Linked DNA regions of Homo sapiens: region 2 is linked to region 1. The links are contacts of gene promoters, found by promoter capture Hi-C in human tissues and cell types (Jung and others, 2019). All regions are on one chromosome and are shown on one strand. Each heading gives the region's core, a stretch centred on a gene start or on the middle of the fragment in contact. The rest is flanking DNA. Distances are from core to core; before and after follow the strand shown. Region 1 holds the start of IL17RA (interleukin 17 receptor A). Region 2 overlaps USP18 (ubiquitin specific peptidase 18).

The links. Contacts are between HindIII fragments. The study calls those that stand out against the background at their distance.
Region 2: a contact is called between a fragment that was not itself captured here and the fragment with the promoter of IL17RA in region 1, in 1 of the 25 tissues and cell types used here (lymphoblastoid cells).

Annotation. Positions count from the first base shown.
Region 1 is chr22:17,082,222-17,087,142 of GRCh38, reverse strand. IL17RA (interleukin 17 receptor A) reads right to left here and starts at 2,143. Exons shown (of 13, transcript NM_014339.7): 1 at 1,914-2,143. The coding sequence starts at 2,051. RefSeq lists silencers at 1,361-1,610, 1,651-1,750, 2,001-2,120, 2,141-2,360 and an enhancer at 2,914-3,083. The HindIII fragment of the contact is 17,220 bases long and covers 1-4,921 here.
Region 2 is chr22:18,155,074-18,159,994 of GRCh38, reverse strand. It overlaps USP18 (ubiquitin specific peptidase 18), which reads right to left. Exons shown (of 11, transcript NM_017414.4): 2 at 2,175-2,437. The coding sequence starts at 2,331. Among named protein-coding and RNA genes, the nearest start is that of USP18, 7.4 kb to the right of the region's middle. RefSeq lists an enhancer at 4,172-4,673. The HindIII fragment of the contact is 4,107 bases long and covers 807-4,913 here.

The DNA.
Region 1 (4,921 bases), core at 894-3,393:
GAACTAGTCAATGGAGCCCAGAGCTGTCTATCTCTGGAGAAGAGCTGTCTGTGAGGCAGGTGTATACAGAAGAGAGAGAGAGGAAGGAAGAGAACGAGAGACTGCAGACAAATATGAACAGCAAGTGTCTCTCTTCAGCCCTCCCTGGAGCCAGGCCGTGCTTCTGCTCCTGACTTACAGTTGCTTCACTGTGCAGTGAAAGTCAGAGCTTGGCTCCCACGCCACGCACAGCAGAGTCCCATCCCCGCTTCTGGCATCTTTTCTCACTGTCCTATTACACAGACCCTCCATTCCGGCCACACACCGTACCCTGTCCCACTTAAGGACCTTGGCTCAGGCCCTTTCCACCACCTGGAATGCTCCTGCTACCCCCACAGGGCTGCCCAAATGCCTTTTCCATGAAGGACACCCCAACTGGAAGCAATTTTTCTTTTTCCTGGAATTCCGTACACTTAGCAGTTGTGCAAGCAGCTTTGCTAGACAGTTCCCTAACTTCAAGCCTTGTTCCTCCCGTAGATGGGTTAGGTCTCTGGATATTAGGGTCCCCAGAGTATTTATTTATAGTTCCAGTTCCCAGTATGGCGCCCTGTACTCTGCAGGCACCTGACCAATGGCTGTCAACCCAGGCGCACCAACCCTCCATATCAGAACGCTTCATACACAGCCTGCAGGAGGGACTAGCAGGGCAGAGGGACCTGCTTTGCCCAATAGTGGAAGTCACAGGACATTTCTCAACATCATTCACGATAAAAACATCTTTTTTTTTTTTTCTGCGACATAGTCACTCACCCTCCACCTTCTTTCGGTAAATCCTCCATAAAACTACATAAGGAGAAATATCCCTTTGTTTTACATCCTCTGACTCAGATACTGAGCATTATTCCTTGGGGTCAGCGGTGGAGGTGGAGGTGGAGGTGGAGGGGAGGAAAGATCCCCTCGGGGATGCGGGGAAGAGGAGAGTATATTGTGGAGGGGCACGGCGTTTTGCTCTTTTTTTGTTTTTTTCCTTAAGATGGTCCTGGCTCACAGAAAGGCCACTACCCGGCAGGCGGGTGGGTCACTTCCTGTGGGCGCAGCGGGGCTACGACTTGACAGCTACAAACGTTCGACCCTCCGACTGCGCTCTCACCGGGTTCCCAGACCCAGGTGGTGGTAGTCGGGGGTGGGAGTGGCGGGAAGGGCGCCGTCTTAAGAACCATCTGCCCATCCTCAGGGCTTCGCGCCTCTGGGGAGGTGGCCCTCAGCCGCCCTCGGCAGAGCTCTCCCCGAAACATGGTGCCGCGTCTCAGCGCTCCGGCCCCCGCGTGGCTCTACGACAGCGGGGTCCCTCTGGGGGCCGCGGGTGAGGGACTCCACCTTCCGCACGGACGACGTGGGCTCGCCCGGCTCCGTCGGCGGCATGAAGGGCACGGCTTGAGGGAAGCTCCCGAGGGCGCGATGGGCCTCCCGAGGGCCGACCGTGCCCCGCCGGGGTACGTGAGGGGCGCAAGGCGTGGAGCTGGGTCCAGACCCGTCCTGGCTCCTCCCCGGGCCCCTTCTCCACAGCCCCTTTCTATCAGCCCTGGCCGCCCCTCCGGCCTGGCCCAGCGCCGCGCCCTCCTTCCCCGAACTCCGCGGCCCGGGCGGAGGTGTCACTCCCGCCTCCAGTCACGACGGCGGGCCAGGTTGTGCAACACGCGCCGCGCGATGTGCCACCCACCCCCCCCGTATTCCACACCGCAACTCCCACCGCTCCGAGGGTCCTCCCCAGGCGCCGCGATATCTGTGCCCAAGGCTCTGAGCCCCTCTAAGCCCGCGGCGCGGACTTCCTGCCTCCCCAGCCCGGGCGCGTAGTCCCGACCGTCCGGCCCTCCGCGACCTTGCCCCGCGTCCGCAGCATCCTGGCGGCTACCGCTCCCCACGTCGAGTCTCACCGGCTGGGAGCAGACCAGCGCCCGGTGGTCCAGGAGTCGCAGGGAGGCGCCACCCGGGGCCAGCACGCCCAGGAGCAGCAGGAGCAGCCCCAGCAGGGGCCCCGGGACAGCGGACGGCGGGCTGCGTGCGGCCCCCATGGCCCGGCTGGCGTCGCGGAGGGCTCGGCCCCGGCTGGGGACGCAGCGAACGAACGTTCTGAGGCTTTCTTTTCCGCGGTGGAGTTCGAGTCGGCTCCACTTTGCTCGCTTCCGGCTTCCAGCCCGGGCCCAGGGGCGGGCCGGGCCGAGGGGAGGAGTTTAGTCTGGGACGGGGAGGGGTTTAGGGTGAGACAGGGCCCTCCCCCCGTTCCTCCTTGCGCCCCTCCTCTCGGCCCTACGCTCAGTCCTCCGGGCGTCCCTACCCAGTCCTTCCGGCGTCCCTCCCCGGCCCTCCTCCGCCCGCGCGCCCCAGGTGCGCTCCTCCCGCTGCTCCTGGGCCTGGCCCGTCGCGCCTCCAGTTGCACCCGCGTCGGGCTAGCGTCAACTCCAGCTGGAGCCTCGCCTGCCCCACATGCACCCTCCACCCTGGCCGTGCCGCAGCAACTGTCGATTTTAATCCTCCGCCCCCACTCACTTGATTCTTGGCCCTGTTCAGACTTCTTGCTTCTCTTGTGGGTCACTGGACGTGAAATCCCAACTTGGGATTTCAGGAAGTCCGTTTTCTTAGTCTCTGTCCCTTTTATTTTTGTTTTTTATTTTACTTTATTTTTAGACAGGGTCTCCCTCTGTCTCCCAGGCTGGAGTGCAGTGGTGCAACCGCAGCTCACTGCAGCTTCGGCCTCCCGGGCTCAAGCGATCCTCCTGCCTCTGCCTCCTGAGTAGATGGAAGCGCGGGCCATATCCCATTTTATTGTCCCCACCCCTTTGCCTGGTTCTGCTCGCTCTGCTTTCCTTGGCTTTGCTTTCTCTTTCTCAAGACAAGGACAGCTCCGGGCTCCAGGGAGGATGGGACAGCAGTCACTTCCAGCCTCCTGGCTCGGACTCGGGGACACTTGAGTTCCTGGAGGGCAGGCAACTTACCTGGTCTGTGAGACTGTGTCCCAGCCGCACCTAAGAGAGTCGTTACTTCCCAGAGGCTCACTCCACGGCCGCGGAAGCTGTCGCCAGCGAATTACACATTTCATGAGTCTCCTTCTTAGCACGCGTGCAGCCTGCGTCCTCTCCTCTCCGGACCCTGGAGGACCCTCCCAAGCCGGCCCGCGCTGCCTCTATCCTAGGTTCCTGCTTCGAGCCCGTCCTGCCCTAGTGCATCCACACGCTCCTGCCCATTCGCCTCTCCTCTCTTCCTCCCAAGACCACCACCGTCCGCTTTTCCTTGCCTATCAAGTGCGCCTCTGCCTGGCCTTGACACGCACGGAGTCTACACTCAAGTGGCTTTTCCCTGTATTTTCCACTGCCCTCGAGAGGTGGGTTTTTTCGCTGCCCGAAGCACCCGCTGACCCCCAGCGACATCTCTATGAGCCCCGCCCGCAGACACGACCCAGCTGAATGAAGCCTGAAGCTCAGTGGCCTTCAAATTGTCTGTTTCTAAAAGAATTTTGGAAAACTGCATCCTCTCATGCATTTTAAAGATGACATCTAAAATTCTCCATCCTAAGTCTAAATAGATGTAGAGGATGTAACTGTTACTTAAAAATCAGCGGTTGTCGTAGGCAGCTTCTAAGATGTGTTCTAGGATCCCACCCCCTGGGAGTCACGACCTTCTGAATCCTCCTCGCGGAGTGTGGGATGGACCCAGAGGCTTGGTTCTAACAATAGAATATGAATAGAAGAAGACAAAAATGATGGGATGTCACTTACAAGATTAAGTTACAAAAAGATCCTGACTTCTGTCTTGCCCAGCCCCTCCCTCTGAGCTCCTAGCTCTTAGGGAAGCCATGCTGGGGCCCAAGTGGCAGAGAATGAGAAAGGCCTCTGCCCAGTGCAAGACACTGAGATCTTCATTTCATCATTGCCATTATTAGTACATAATTGATAAAAAATAATGTAAATATAATACATGTTAATAAGTAATTAAACATGAATTACTTGAAATTCATTTTATTCCTAATTAGTTGATGTATCTGTGAACAAATATTGCTTATTCATAGAACAAAGCAACATTCAGCATTTAAGAAATATTTTATTTTTCTTCTTTTTTTTTTTTTCTTTTTGAGATGGAGTCTTGCTCTGTCATCCAGGCCGGAGTGCAGTGGCGTGATCTCGGCTCACTGCAAGCTCCGCCTCCCGGGTTCAGTCCATTCTCCTGCCTCAGCCTCCCGAGTAGCTGGGACTACAGGCACCTGCCACCACGCCCGGCTAATTTTTTGTATTTTTAGTAGAGACGGGGTTTCACCGTGTTAGCCAGGATGGTCTTGATCTCCTGACCTCATGATCCGCCCGCCTCGGCCTCCCAAAGTGCTAGGATTACAGGCGTGAGCCACCATTTTTCTTCTTTTTAAAACATTGAGACAGGGTCTCACTATGTTACCCAGGCTGGTCTTGAATTCCTGGGCTCAAGTCATCCTCCTGCCTCAGCTTCCCAAAGTACTAGGATTACAGGCACGAGCTACCACCCCAGGCTAAAAATATTTTAGATGTAAGCCTTAAAAAATTGCTTACATAAATAATTATATTTGTCTCATCAATTCTTTGAACCCGTTTTCAGTCATATGCAAAGATCACATAGCCATCTTGTCACCTTTTTTTTTTTTTAAATAGGGTCTCACTAAACGGCCCAGGCTAGACTCAAACTCCAGGGCTCAAGAGGTCCTCTCATCTCAGCCTCCCAAGTAGCTGGGATTACAGGTTTGCACCACTGTGCCCAGTCAAATATTTTTGATTTGGCAACTGACAACTTGATTGGGTCCTCCTTCAATTTTAGTAAGGCAATATTTGGAACCTACCTCACTTGCAAAAAAATAGATGTCTATCTATCTATCTATCTATCTATCTCTGTATATCGATATGTGTATATACCTATCCTGTGA
Region 2 (4,921 bases), core at 1,611-4,110, 1.1 Mb before region 1:
AAAAAAAATCCAAAAATCAGCCGGGTGCGGTGGCTCACGCCTGTAATCCCAGTACTTTGGGAGGCCGAGGCGGGCAGATCACGAGGTCAGGAGATCGAGACCATCCTGGCTAACACGGTGAAACCCCGTCTCTACTAAAAATGCAAAAAAAATTAGCCGGGCGTGGTGGTGGGCGCCTGTAGTCCCAGCTACTCAGGAGGCTGAGGCAGGAGAATGGTGTGAACCCAGGAGGCGGAGCTTGCAGTGAGCCAAGATCACGCCACTGCACTCCAGCCTGGGCAACAGAGCGAGACTCCATCTCAAAAAAAAAAAAAAAAAAAAATCCAAAAATCAGCCAGGTGTCATGACAGGTGCCTGTAGTCCCAGCTCCTTGGGAGGCTGAGGCAGGAGAATTGCTTGAACCCAGGAGGCAGAGGTTGCAGTGAGCCAAGATCATGCCACTGCACTCCAGCCTGGGCAACAAGAGTGGAATTCTGTCTCAAAAAAAAAAAAAAAGTTGACAAAAATCTAATGTTTTTCTTAAAGCTACTAAGGACATGAAGTCCTGTAAAGTCTCTCAAGTACGAAGTGTTCATTCAGCTTGCAAACAAATCGGAGAGAAGATATCAAACATGAATCTTTAAAAAGCTCTATCACAAGGGCCAAGCACAGTGGCTCACACCTGTAATCCCAGCACTTTGGGAGGCCGAGGCGGGAAGACCACCTGAGGTCAGGAGTTCAATACCAGCCTGGCCTACATGGTAAAACCTCATATTTACTAAAAATACAAAAATTAGCCGGGTGTGGTGGTGCATGCCTGTAATCCCAGCTACTCGGGAGGCTGAGGAAGGAGAACTGCTTGAACCTGGCAGGCAGATGTTGCAGTGAGCCAAGATCGTGCCACTGCACTCCAGCCTAGGCGACAAAGCAAAACTCCATCTCACACACACACACACAAAAAGTTCGATAACAAGAAAAGTTTTAATATAGTCCATTAGGAAAAGTGAGATGTCACCAAAAGTATATATTACTCACTGCCAAATGAGTAGTATGAGCAATTGTTGGGAGAGAAAAAAAAACATTAGAGAAAGCATAACTGAGAATATGGCTTCCTTTCATTCAAATCGTTCTCCACGGAGCTAAGTCCAAATGTGCATCTGTGGGGCTCAGGGATAAGAGGGACTCCCCAGTATGTCTATGTTGGAGTCCAGCGGAGAGGTCTCTGCCCAGTTCCCACTACAGGGAGGCAGGAAATAAATCAGAAGGTTACTTTGGGGAAGATTCACCTAATCCAGTGTCACCCTGAGAGGCTGAAAGGCAGAAGGAACTTATAAGAATACGAGAAAAACAAAAGATAACATTTGTCTGACCCCTAGCAACCAACCTCCTCTTTTCCAACCCAACCTTAGGCTCAGCAGACCCCACAAGGGAAGTACCACTAATCTCAGGATTCTTGGGGAAAGGGCTTTGGCTTACAAGATAGGACAGTAAGAAAGTAACAACCTGGGGTCACAGGTGAGCACAGATTTCTACTCCCAGACTATCAGGAGCACATTGCTTCCAGACAGACCCATACAAAGGTAGCAGTAAAGATGGGAACTAATGCTAAGTGCCTCTAGAATCCCAGCACTGGCTTAAAGCAGTTTCCACAGATGACCCCATTTAATCCTCCCAACAACCCTATGTGCTTGGTACTATTATTACCCCCATTTGTTTGTTTGTTTGTTTGAGACAGAGTCTCACTCTGTCACCCAGGCTGGAGTGCAGTGGCGTGATCTCAGCTCACTGCAACCTCTGCCGCCCAGGTTCAAGCAATTCTCCTGCCTCAGCCACCTAAGTAGCTGGGATTACAGGCACCTGCCACTGCGCCCAGCTAATTTTTGTATTTTTAGTAGAGACGGGGTTTCACCATTTTGGCCAGGCTGGTCTTAAACTCCCGACCTCATGATCCACTTGCCACGGCCTCCCAAACTGCTGGGATTACAGGCATGAGCCACCGCGCCCGACCTTGTTTTTGTTTTTTACAGATAGGGTTTCACTATGGCCCAGGCTGTATCCCCATCTAAAAGATGCAGAAACTCAGGCACAGGAAAGCATGAGCCGTCGAATACAAAGCTCTGCGGCTTCAGAGCGGAGGGGGTGAGCCGAACATTTACATGCAGTCAAGAAGAGGAAAACGGGAGGGGTCTAATGACCATGAGGGTAGTCCCAGGCCCTGGGACGCTCTCTGGGCTGCTCTCTCTTCATGTTGCTGTCTTCTTCCTTCTTTTCTTCAAGATCTGCCGGGGACTGCGAGGACTCAGCCAGGATGGACTGACAGATTTGCCTCAGGAGCCCAAACGCCTTGCTCATTCGTGATCACTCCAAAACCCCCAGGCCGCAGCTGCCTGGCCCGCGTTCAGGACAGCACGACTTCACTTCCAGGAAGCGCTTATGTGAGCCAGGCACGATGGAATCTCTGTGAAAATACAATGCGGGTAGGCAAGAATTAGAGAAGGAGGAATGTGTATTCATGTAATCCGTTCTGATGCCAAAGAGCAGGTCTTAGAGGGAGATAAATGTTTGGGGAGACTGACTCATAGAGCTCTAGGCTGGAAATGACAGCTAGGCTACACATCCCCTAACCTGGGTCCCAGGCGTTTCCATTCATCCTCAGAGCCGACTGCCAAATCCTAACCGGGAGCGCCCTCTTGGGAAAGGACAGGGAAGCGCGCATAGGACTTTGCTTTACAACCCAGGACCAGGCCCACTTCAGTAAAAAGCCAGCACTAAGCAAGAACTCTCAGCCCCTGATGCCAGGCTGGCATACAGGGGAAGCCTCTCAACCCGCCCAACACCCAAGGGGACCTGCGGCCCTGGCAGAACAGCCTCGTGTTCTGGCCCGCAACACTGCCGGCCAGCTGCAGCAGTCAGATAAACCTTAGCTGCAGGCAGGCTGTAGCTACCTGTCGGCCTTAGGCACATCCTGGTGCTGGGCTGGTCTCATGGCATGAATTCTGGGGGTGTGACTCAATATTGTCTCAGCCTCAGTGGCCATAGGGGTACCCGTGTACCCTCCCCCAACCCAGCACAGCTGTGTGAAGAGAGACACTGTTTGCTTGGGGGAAGAAGAGGTAAGTGGAGTACTTCGCCTTGGAACCCAGTGTGTCCGGAATTGGTGGGTGCTTGGTCTCACTGACTTCAAGAATGAAGCCGTGGACCCTCGCAGTGAGTGTTACAGTTCTTAAAGGGGGCATGTCCGCAGTTTATTCCTTCTGATGTTCGGATGTGTTCGGAGTTTCTTCCTTCTGGTGGGTTTGTGGTCTCGCTAGCTCAGGAGTGAAGCTGCAGACCTTCGCGGTGAGTGTTACAGCTCCTAATACGGCGCATCTGGAGATGTCCGTTCCTCCCGGTGGGTTCGTGGTGTCGCTGGCTTCAGGAGCGAAGCTGCGGACCTTCACGGTGAGTGTTACAGCTCTTAAGGCAGCGCGTCTGGAGTTGTTAGTCCCTCCTGGTTGGTTTGTGGTCTTGCTGGCTTCAGGAGTGAAGCTACAGACCTTCGCGGTGAGTGTTACAGTTCATAAAGGCAGTGTGGACCCAAAGAGTGAGCAGTAGCAAGACTTACTGCAAAGAATGAAACAACAAAGCTTCCACAGCATGGAAGGAAACCTGACCAGGTTGCCACTGCTGGCTCGGGCAGCCTGCTTTTATTCTCTTATCTGGCCCCACCCACATCCTGCTGATTGGTCCATTTTATAGACAGCCAATTGGTCTGTTTTACAGAGAGCTGATTGGTCCGTTTTGACAGGGTGCTGATGGGTGTGTTTACAATCCCTGAGCTAGACACAAAACGTCTCCACGTCCCCACTAGATTAGCTAGATACAGAGTGTGGACACAAAGGTTCTCCAAGTCCCCACCAGAGTAGCTAGATTCAGAGGGTCGACTGGTGCATTCACAAACCCTGAGCTAGACACAGGGTGCTGATTGGTGTGTTTACAAACCTTGAGCTAGATACAGAGTGCCGATTGGTATATTTACAATCCCTTAGCTAGACATAAAGATTCTCCAAGTCCCCACCAGACTCAGGAGCCCAGCTGGCTTCACCCAGTGGATCCCACACCTGGGCCGCAGGTGGAGCTGCCTGCCAGTCCCGCGCCGTGCGCCCGCACTCCTCAGCCCTTGGGTGGTCGGTGGGACTCGGCGGCGTGGAGCCGGGAGCGGCGCTGGTCGGGGAGGCTTGGTCCGCACAGGAGCCCATGGCTGCGGGGTGGGGAGGCTCAGGCATGGCGGGCTACAGGTCCCGAGCCCTGCCCTGCCAGGAGGCAGCTAAGGCCCGGCGAGAAATCGAGCACAGCAGCTGCTGGCCCAAGTGCTAAGCCCCTTACTGCCTGGGGCTTGCAGGCCGGCCGGCTGGCCGCTCCGAGTGCGGGCCCGCCGAGCCCACGCCCACTCGGAACTCGCGCTGGCCCACAAGCACCGCGTGCAGCCCCAGTTCCCGCCCCTGCCTCTCCCTCCACACCTCCCCGCAAGCTAAGGGAGCCCACTCCAGCCTCGGCCAGCCCAGGAAGGGGCTCCCACAGTGCAGCGGTGGGCTGAAGGGCTCCTCAAGCGTGGCCAGAGTGGGCGCCAAGGCCGAGGAGGCACCGAGAGCGAGCGAGGGCTGTGATGGCTGCCAGCACGCTGTCACCTGTCACCAGGACTAGGCTCACTACAGTAAAACCCAGTACTGGGCAGAGCCTCATCACCCTGATACTAGACCAGTACCCACAGGCAGATCTCACCCCACCCTAGTGCCAGATGAGAACCCACAGCCCCAGTAACAGGGACTGGCGATCTGGCCCACATCACTACCTGACAACTACAGTGGCCCTGGGCCCTGAATAACTTCAGCAGCAGCAAGCACGCCATCACAGCTGTGGGTCTTGGGCGTGCCCCAGTGCTGTGCCAGTCTCGGCAGCTATG